Regions from separate parts of the Homo sapiens genome. Here region 1 is linked to region 2. The links are contacts of gene promoters, found by promoter capture Hi-C in human tissues and cell types (Jung and others, 2019). All regions are on one chromosome and are shown on one strand. Each heading gives the region's core, a stretch centred on a gene start or on the middle of the fragment in contact. The rest is flanking DNA. Distances are from core to core; before and after follow the strand shown. Region 1 holds the start of BOD1 (biorientation of chromosomes in cell division 1). Region 2 holds the start of ATP6V0E1 (ATPase H+ transporting V0 subunit e1).

Evidence for each region. Contacts are between HindIII fragments. The study calls those that stand out against the background at their distance.
Region 1: a contact is called between the fragment with the promoter of BOD1 here and the fragment with the promoter of ATP6V0E1 in region 2, in 1 of the 25 tissues and cell types used here (IMR-90 fibroblasts).

What each region holds. Positions count from the first base shown.
Region 1 is chr5:173,614,970-173,619,374 of GRCh38, reverse strand. It overlaps BOD1 (biorientation of chromosomes in cell division 1), which reads left to right and starts at 2,725. Exons shown (of 4, transcript NM_138369.3): 1 at 2,725-3,175. The coding sequence starts at 2,939. RefSeq lists enhancers at 2,449-2,528, 2,549-2,808 and silencers at 2,789-2,858, 2,869-2,918. The HindIII fragment of the contact is 11,068 bases long and covers 1-4,405 here.
Region 2 is chr5:172,981,213-172,985,610 of GRCh38, reverse strand. It overlaps ATP6V0E1 (ATPase H+ transporting V0 subunit e1), which reads right to left and starts at 1,840. Exons shown (of 4, transcript NM_003945.4): 1 at 1,647-1,840. The coding sequence starts at 1,750. RefSeq lists a silencer at 1,786-1,965 and an enhancer at 1,731-2,025. The HindIII fragment of the contact is 13,025 bases long and covers 1-4,398 here.

The DNA.
Region 1 (4,405 bases), core at 1,476-3,975, 630 kb before region 2:
AGGTCTAGATTTGGGCTTGGGGAAGTTCTACTTTTTCATGTGGCCTTCAACAAAAAATATTCCAGCACCTAAAATGCGTAATTCTTTGGGGTCGGGCAACTTATTACAGACAAGTTTTAATACTGAGAAGCAACAACAATTTGCTACGTGAAGGATACCTGAAAACCAGATTACTACCTAAGCCAAAGTTAAAACAATGTTCCGCACAGCCATTTCCGAATGTTTTGGATTATTAATACAGCAATGGCGCTCTCTGATGACTGCTGGTGTGTATTACATGTCTCTTGAAGGGAAGAATACATTTTGGATGTTGTGGAGGCCTCCTATTCCACGGTTTGGATAAATAATAAGCCTCCCTTCAGCTTGATCATCTTCACTCCTCATCCCCTTCCCCTTTTATCCCTCATCATTTACTTTGATTGCAGAGGGAAGGTCATGGATACAGAATGCAGCCTTTTGTCAATGTTCAGAGACCCAGCAACCAAGACACAGGTCCCCATGACAGATAGTGAAATTGTCACAGTGTGAACCAAGTGCAGACAATCTCCAGGATCACTTACCTATTTAAGTCATGACAGATTCATCCATCATCTCCTGCTAGAATGCTCCTTCTTTTCTGAAGATTATGGCTACACATAATCCTACCCACGCACTCTGTGATGCTATCCCACAGCTTTAGGAAACAGACAGGAATTTATACATTCTCTTTGAGCTAAGAACTATCGTGCTAAGAGCTGGAGACACAGTGATGAACAAGTCGTGGTCCCCATTCTAAATATTACACCCTATCAGGGGACTCAGGTGGCCAATTTGTCTGTAAATCATTCACTTCCAATTATAATAATTGCTACAAAAAATGAGGCTTTGAGTTTCTGTAGCATGGAGGAAATATCTCATTGGATCTAGGGGTCAGAAGAATTTTCCCTGAGGAAGGAGAGTAAGATGTGGGGTGCCAAAAATGGAGAAGGGACTAGTCAGAGTGATCAAGGGCTTGCAGAAGAAAGAACCTGGGGCTGAGGCAGCCTGAACTGGGCTTCTCCTGGGGTTAAAGGTGAGTGATCAGTGTAGAGTCAACCAGTAGGAACAGACATTAGGTAATCTCAAGGATGGTGAGCTATTAAGAGAGAATGTTTGTCATTAACTGACCCATTGTGAATGATTGAGCTGGTGTTAGAGGATGAGTATAATCCAACACCTGAATGTTTCTTTTGAGGGTTAATTTAAACTCTCTTGGACAGGTGTGGTGGCTCACACCTGTAATCCCAGCACTTTGGGAGGCTGAGGCGGGTAGATCACTTGAGGTCAGGAATTCAAGACCAGCCTGGCCAACATGGTGAAACCCCCATCTCTACTAAAAATACTAAAATTAGCCAGGTATGGTGGCATGCGCCTGTAATCCCAGCTACTCGGGAGGCTGAGGCAGGAGAATTGCTTGAACCCAGGAGGTGGAGGCTGCAGTGAGCCAAGATTGCACCACTGCACTCCAGCCTGGGCGATAGAGTGAGACTCTGTCTCAAAAAAAAAAAAGAAAAAAAAATTAAACTGTCTTGAGTACTAAATATTGGTGTGGAGAACATCCTGGATCTTTGCCAATTCTGCATCTTCGCAGGAGCCAAGGATATTGCAGAATTTGCTATTTACATCCCCTCTGCTGCTTGTGTAAGATGAGGAAACAACAATAGCAGACATAATTGCTGAGGTTGGGAGGGGGAGCTGAGCTAACAATAGGCAAAAGATGAAGGGAAGAGAGGATAATGGTGGCAGCTATAGGATTCCAATGGTGAATTGTGGCTACTTAAAAAAATCAGGATATAAAGCCTTACCTATTGTGGGATACCAACTAGCTCTCAGGATACCTCAGGCTAAAATGCAAGATTTAGATCCTCAAAACCTGGGTTCAAATCCTACTTTTCTACCTCTAGGTATGTGATTAGGTTAACAAACTTTCTTCTGCCTCCATTTCTACGTCTGTAAATAGCAATAATAGTAGTATGTATCTGCTTTTTTAAATTATCGTGAAGAAGTGCGTGGAAAGTGCATAGCATCACGCCTGACACTTTTCAATTATTCAATATTGGCTTATGATTGACAATATTTAATATTTGGGAGGAAATCCACACACATATAAGACAGACTTAAGGAAAACTTTTATTTTCTTCTTCACACTTTTCCGTTATTTTCCAATTTTCTAAAATGAGTATGCATTGCTATTAAAACCAAAAGGAGGGAAACTCACAAATTTCTGAACAATAGAAGTTTGACTGTTCCACTGTTTCCGGAATTTCCCGGAACATGTTGTTCAAGAAGGACGTGGGAGTGCATGCTGAAGCACAGATTGCTAGGTCTCGACCCGTAAATACTGGATAAAAATCTTTAAGAAATAATTCTGGTAATCTATACTTTTAATCAGCTCCACAGATGACTGTTATAATCGGGCACTGCTGGGACGTGTTGATTGAATGGGAAGTGAGCAGAGAGTGGGCGGGGAAGGCCTGGCGGGGAAGGCCTGGCGGGTTGCAGCGATCACGAGGCCTGCGCCTACAGTTCCCATATTACCCCGCGAAATCGCGACGAGCAAGCACGAACCCTGCCGGGAGTTGTAGTTTCTCTCGGCTAGGCCGCTGCCTATAAAGAACGCCGGAGATGGCCACAGAAAACTTCCCGCCCCACAATGCAAAGGTCAACGTTGACGCCATCTGGGGTGCGCCTGGAATCGAGCAGGCCGTTTCTGCCGCGTCCACCACAACCTCTGCTGTATCAGAGGGGGCCTTCGCCGCCGCCGCCCCCACCACCGCCCCTGCCGCCATCGCCACCTCCGCCGCTGCCGCCTTGGGGCCCTCCTCCTTCACCGCCCCCTTCACCACCTCTACACGTTCTAGGCCTTCTGTCCTGGAGAAGAAGCTATAGTCGTTCTCCCTTGTGGGCCCGGGGCGCAGCCATGGCGGACGGCGGCGGCGGCGGGGGAACTGGCGCGGTGGGCGGCGGCGGAACTAGCCAGGCCTCTGCCGGGGCAGCGACTGGCGCTACTGGGGCCAGCGGGGGCGGTGGCCCCATCAACCCGGCCTCGCTGCCTCCCGGCGACCCGCAGCTCATCGCTCTCATCGTGGAGCAGCTCAAGAGCCGGGGCCTTTTTGACAGCTTCCGCCGGGACTGCCTGGCCGACGTGGACACCAAGGTAGCTGCGGCCGCCTGGGCGTTGGGGAGCGGGGCTGCACGTGAGGCCGCCGGGTGGCAGCTTTGATTTTCGAAAGCCGAGAGCAAAACAAAAGATAGCTTAGAAATCTCAGCGGTGAGGTCTTACACCGCTTGGGGCAGTACGGAGAGCTTTCTGAGCGATGCACACGTGGGTTCCTGCCTGATACATTTACTACTAGTTGTGATTTTACCCAGTCCCTTCTCCGAACTTGGGGTTTCAATGTGGGTTTTAGAGCCTAGACCGTATCATTCCCAAGATGGAACTCCTCTGAGGCCCTTAATAACAAACTTCGAAACCAAGTAGATAAGCAAGCGTGCTTTAGAATTTCCACCTGTTCCGTACTCACCACTGAGAAGCTGGCATTAAACACAATGATTTGAACACACAGTCATCACCATTTTATAGCTGTTTATTCCTTTTCTCTAGCTCATTGTTTTGCAGACTAGTACGGCGTTGAATTAAGATAAATTGTAGAAACAGCACCCTTATTTTGCACTTCATCATTGATAAAAGGAGATTTGGTGCCTAGTTGAGATCCTAATGCCATTGGTCAGTCCCACCAGTAAAACGCTATTTCACTTTACCTACTCGTCAGGGTGGTTTGGATTCAATGAAATAATGGGTGTTAAGTATCAGACATACAGTAGTTGCTGGAATGTTCATTTTCTTCCTTTTCAAAACTTGTCTAGCCACGACTGTGGTTGTAGGTTAGGAGACCCTGTCACTGGACTCCTGCAGGGTAGTGATTTCTCCTACCAGAGCCTGTCATGGAAACATTTTGCTTACCTCACAGCAAGATTGTGAGCTTAGAATTAGACCTTAAGATAGGGAAAAACGTAGTCTGTTTATTCGTTGAACGTTTATTGGCCTCTAGTTGCCAAGCTGTGCGATTACAGGAATAAGTCACTACCCCATCCTCAAAACTTATAGTCTAGGTTAGAAAACTGACATGTAAATAAACCAGGTGGTAAATACGGATGTAGAGAGAGAAAGTGGTATACACTGTTCCTTCTCCAAGATGAAAAGCCCAACTAGAAGTCTGTCCTTGAAACAAAGTAATTTAATACATATACATCCCAGATCTGTATTGACAGAGCTTTCACCTTTCCTAGGACAAGTTCTCCATTCATATTTCTTATATTCCGTTAGGTTTTGTGTGTGATTTTAAAACAAAAGCGACTACAGTAGCCCGCCCCATCCAAGGTTTTG
Region 2 (4,398 bases), core at 591-3,090:
GACAGTAGGGTAATGAAACAGTTGAAGATATAAACACAACAAAGAAGCACTTTGTTGTTCGCTAACTCCAGTAGGAAAAACAAGTCTAATTAACTTTGGTAAATACAATTGCTTTAATAATGCCAGAATTCTGACTCTGTCCATCAACCTCTATAGGTAGGAGAGATGACCCCATATAACTGGTGTTACCAGGGAGGAGGAACTTGATACTTAAAAATGATAAAAATTCATCTACCATGTATCTTTTAAAAAAAAATAATTTTAGACTAATAAAGCAAATGTATCCCAGGGAGCAAAAGGGGTTCAGGTCACAAAATATTAGGGAAGTAGTAAAAATCTTTTTCTTTCTTTTTTTTTTTTTTTTTTGAGACGGAGTCTCGCTCTGTCGCCCAGGCTGGAGTGCAGTGGCGCGATCTCGGCTCACTGCAAGCTCTGCCTCCTGGGTTCACGCCATTCTCCTGCCTCAGCCTCCCGAGTAGCTGGGATTACAGGCGCCCGCCACCACGCCCGGCTAATTTTTTGTGTTTTTAGTAGAGACGGGTTTCACCGTGTTAGCCAGGATGGTCTCGATCTCCTGACCTCGTGATCCGCCCGCCTTGGCCTCCCAAAGTGCTGGGATTACAGGCGTGAGCCACGGCACCTGGCCAAAAATCTTTTTCTTTTAATAAAGACAATAGAACTATTCACTCAACAGGTATTTATTGGGTGCCTCCTGTGCATACAAGGTACTATGAAAACCAGGCACTATGAAGCCACCAATTAGGTTCAAGAATAAAGCAAGAGATGGTGTTTCTGACAAACTGACTTCAGTCGAAGTTTCACCTCTCATCATCTTGAACTGAGAAAAAAATGACTGAGAAGCAAAAGAGGAACCAGGAAGAGGGTGTTCCAAGGCTCCTTTGAAGATTAAGCCTCTATTTTATACTACAGTTAAAAAGTTTAATTCCAAAAGAGACAAAGCTCTAACCAACAAAGAAGTCTGGAAAAACAAAATCTTTCTTAGCCAATCATTCTAAGCACTTCTTACACTCACATACAAGAGCCGGAGCGCCCTCCAAAAGGCATGACGCAGGGGTTTCTCAACAATACCTCCTGCTCTTTGGTAATTAATCTCGCTTTAGATCAGGCCCCAACCGCCTCCTGGCGCCCACTAGATGCAAGGCCTGGGCTCAATGTTGTCGAAGGAGCTTGTTCTGTACGCAACCGCGACAGCATGGGAGGCAGAGAAGCCAATTTCTGTTTTATTTATTTGATCCTTAAGTTCAGGCAAACGAGGCCTCATGTGGGTGGAAGGCAGGGCTAAAGGGGGACAGTCGACTAGGGACAAACCCCAGTTTCTCCCAGATTCGGCCTGCTCATTTCCGACTGCACCTCCCCACACAGGACTATGATGAGAAAAAATTCCCCTGAAACTCGTTTCCAAGGGGGGTCCACCAAAGGTCACCCTCCACTCGCTCAGGCCGGAGGACACTGAAGCTGCTGCGAAAAGGAACACAAGGAGTTCCGCCGGGTCGGGGGCCTGACTCTGCAGCGCGGGGGGCGCCCATGCAACGTTCTCTGACCCGTGTGGGGGTCGTGCCTTTCCCCGCCCCGGCCTGCTAGCTCCTCACCGCCCGTTCCTCCCAAGGCGGGCCTCACGCACTTACCCCCGGTTAGGACCCTTAGGGATGAACCAAGGCACCAAGAAGCCGACGAAGCCCCAGAACACGCTCATCACAATGAGAGGCACAGTGAGGCCGTGATACGCCATGGTCGCCGCCTGAGCGCCAACCCCTACCCCGTCGCCTCACTCGGATCCCACCAGGAAGTGTCAATAGCTGACCGCGTGACCAGCGTGTGCAAGCCCCGCCTCCCGCGCCCCCACGTGACCCGCGCGCCGGCCTCCGCCCCTCGGGGAGCCCAGAGGCAGAGCCCCGCCTTCGCCTGGCTGTCTCCTGGCTGCAGCTCCTTGGAGGCATGTCGCTCACCCCAGAGCTAGGGATTCGGTCACCCGGGGCTCAGCAAAGTGTTCTGATGAGAACTTGGCCCTTTTAGACAAAGAGTGTAGTTATCTACAGCCTCATCTACTTATGCAACAGACATAGAGAACTTAACAATAGTTGTCCCTTACTATTCTGAATTCCCGTGTGCCTGGCACTGGGCCATGATCTTTAAGTTCATGAGCCCCAGGCCGGGTGCGGTGGCTCACGCCTGTAATCCCAGCACTTTGGCAGGCTGAGGCAGGCGGATCACTTGAGGTCAGGAGTTCGAGACCAGCCTGGCCAACATGGTGTAACCCTGTCTCTACTAAAAATACAAAAATTAGCTGGGTGTGGTGGTGCGCGCCTGTGGTCCCAGCTACTCAGGAGGCTGAGGCAGGAGAATCAATTGAACTCGGGAGGTGGAGGTTGCAGTGAGCCGAGATTGCGCCACTGCACTCCAGCCTGGGCAACAGAACAACACTCTGTCTCAAAAGAAAAAAAAAAAAGTGCATGAGCCCGTGTTGAACTCCTCACTTCAGCCTATGAGGTAATTGTAATTATTATCCCCACTTTGCAGTTGAAGAAACTGAGGCCCAGGGAAGAGGATAAGGATCTTGCCCAAAGTCACATAGTAAGTGGCAGGGCCAGGATTCAACCCCTGATTATCTGATTTTCAAGGCCAGAGCTCTTAACTAGCGCACCACTATTTATCTTGTGTGCTGTGCCAGGCTCTGGAGTTACAGAAGTCAATCAGGCACCCCTGAGGGAGTTCACATTCTGGGGAGCAGATGACCTTGCAAACAGGCGACTCAATGCAGTGTGAAAGTAAGTGGACGACCCTGCAAGGCTTTCTACCCAACTCGTCCTTGCTGAGCCTTGAAAGACAAGTAGAAATTAGCCAGAATGGTAAGAAGAAAAACAGGCCAGGCATGGTGGCTCACACCTGTAATCCCAGCACTTTGGGAGGCCGAGGCGGGCAGATCACCTGAGGTCAGTAGTTCAAGACTAGCCTGGGCAACATGGTGAAATCCCATCTCTACTAAAAATACAAAAATTGGCCAGGTATGCACCTGTAGTCCCAGCCACTCAGGAGGCTGAGGAACAAGAACCGCTTGAATCCCTGGGAGGCAGAGGTTATAATGAGCTGAGATCGCACCACTGCACTCCAGCCTTGGCGACAGAGTGAAACTCTGCCTCAAAAAAAAAAAAAAAAAGAAAGAAAGAAAAAGAAAGGTAAAACAGTTTTGTTTGTTTGTTTGTTTTTTGAGACAGGGCCTTGCTCTGTCACCCAGGCTGGAGTGCAGTGGTGCTCCATAGCTCACTGCTGCCTGGAACTCCCGGGCTCAAGCCATCCTTCTGCCTCAGCCTCCTGAGGAGCTGGGACTACAGGTGTGCACCACCACACCAGCTAATTTTTAAAATGTTTTGTAGAGACAGAGCCTCGCTATGTTGCCCCGGTGGGTCTTAAACTCCTGGCCTGAAGGGATCCTCCACCTCAGCCTCCCAAAGTGCCGGGATTACTGGCATAAGCCACCGTGCTGAGCTGATAAACAGGGCTTAGAACGCTTGCTGAGAATTTTCACATATGTTAGTTATAGTATGCGCCAAGCTTGGAATAGACAAGGAAGCCAGTTCTCAGAGAGGTTGAGGAGCTTGATGATAAAGCTTACAGGTGAAAGCAAGATAGAAAGCAGGTCTTTAAATGCAATGTGCTTTACCAGGGACCATGGTTTCCTTGCAGTAGCCACATTGCATTAACTCCTGATTTCTTTCATCAAGTAGAATGGATTCCTGTATTAAACGGGAAACTGGACCAATAATCTTCAACATCTGTACCAACTTTTCGGACATGATTCTAAGCCTTTAACCTGATCAGCAATGTAGAAAACTAGTTTGTCTCCTTTGTGCTCATAATGCTTCCCCAAAACTTAGCCCCAGCAGAAATCCTATGGTCCTTAAGTTCTAGCCCAAACACCGCCTTCTCCAAGACCCATTTCATCCTGTTAGCGCATCTCTTTGGCCTTGTTGTATATGTATCTTGACCAACCCTCTACTAGAGGGCCAACTCCTTGAGAATAGGCACTGTTTCACTGATCTTTGTTTCCGGGAGGACTTTATACATAGAATGTGCTCAATAAATAACTGTGCAACTGAATTGAGTAGCTAAGAAGGGATGAGGTCAGAACAAAATTAGAGAAAGAAGTTCATTTCTACTTTCTCCTTCCTTCCTTCCTTCCTTCCTTCCTTCCTTCCTTCCTTCCTTCCTCTCTCTTTCTTTCTTTCTTTTTTCTTTTTTTGATGGAATCTCACTCTGTTGCCCAGGCTGGAGTGCAGTAGCATGACAATGGCTCGCTGCAACCTCCACCTCCCTGGTTCAAGCGATTCTCCTGCTGCAGCCTCCTGAGTAGCTGGGATTTACCAGCGCCCTCCACCACAC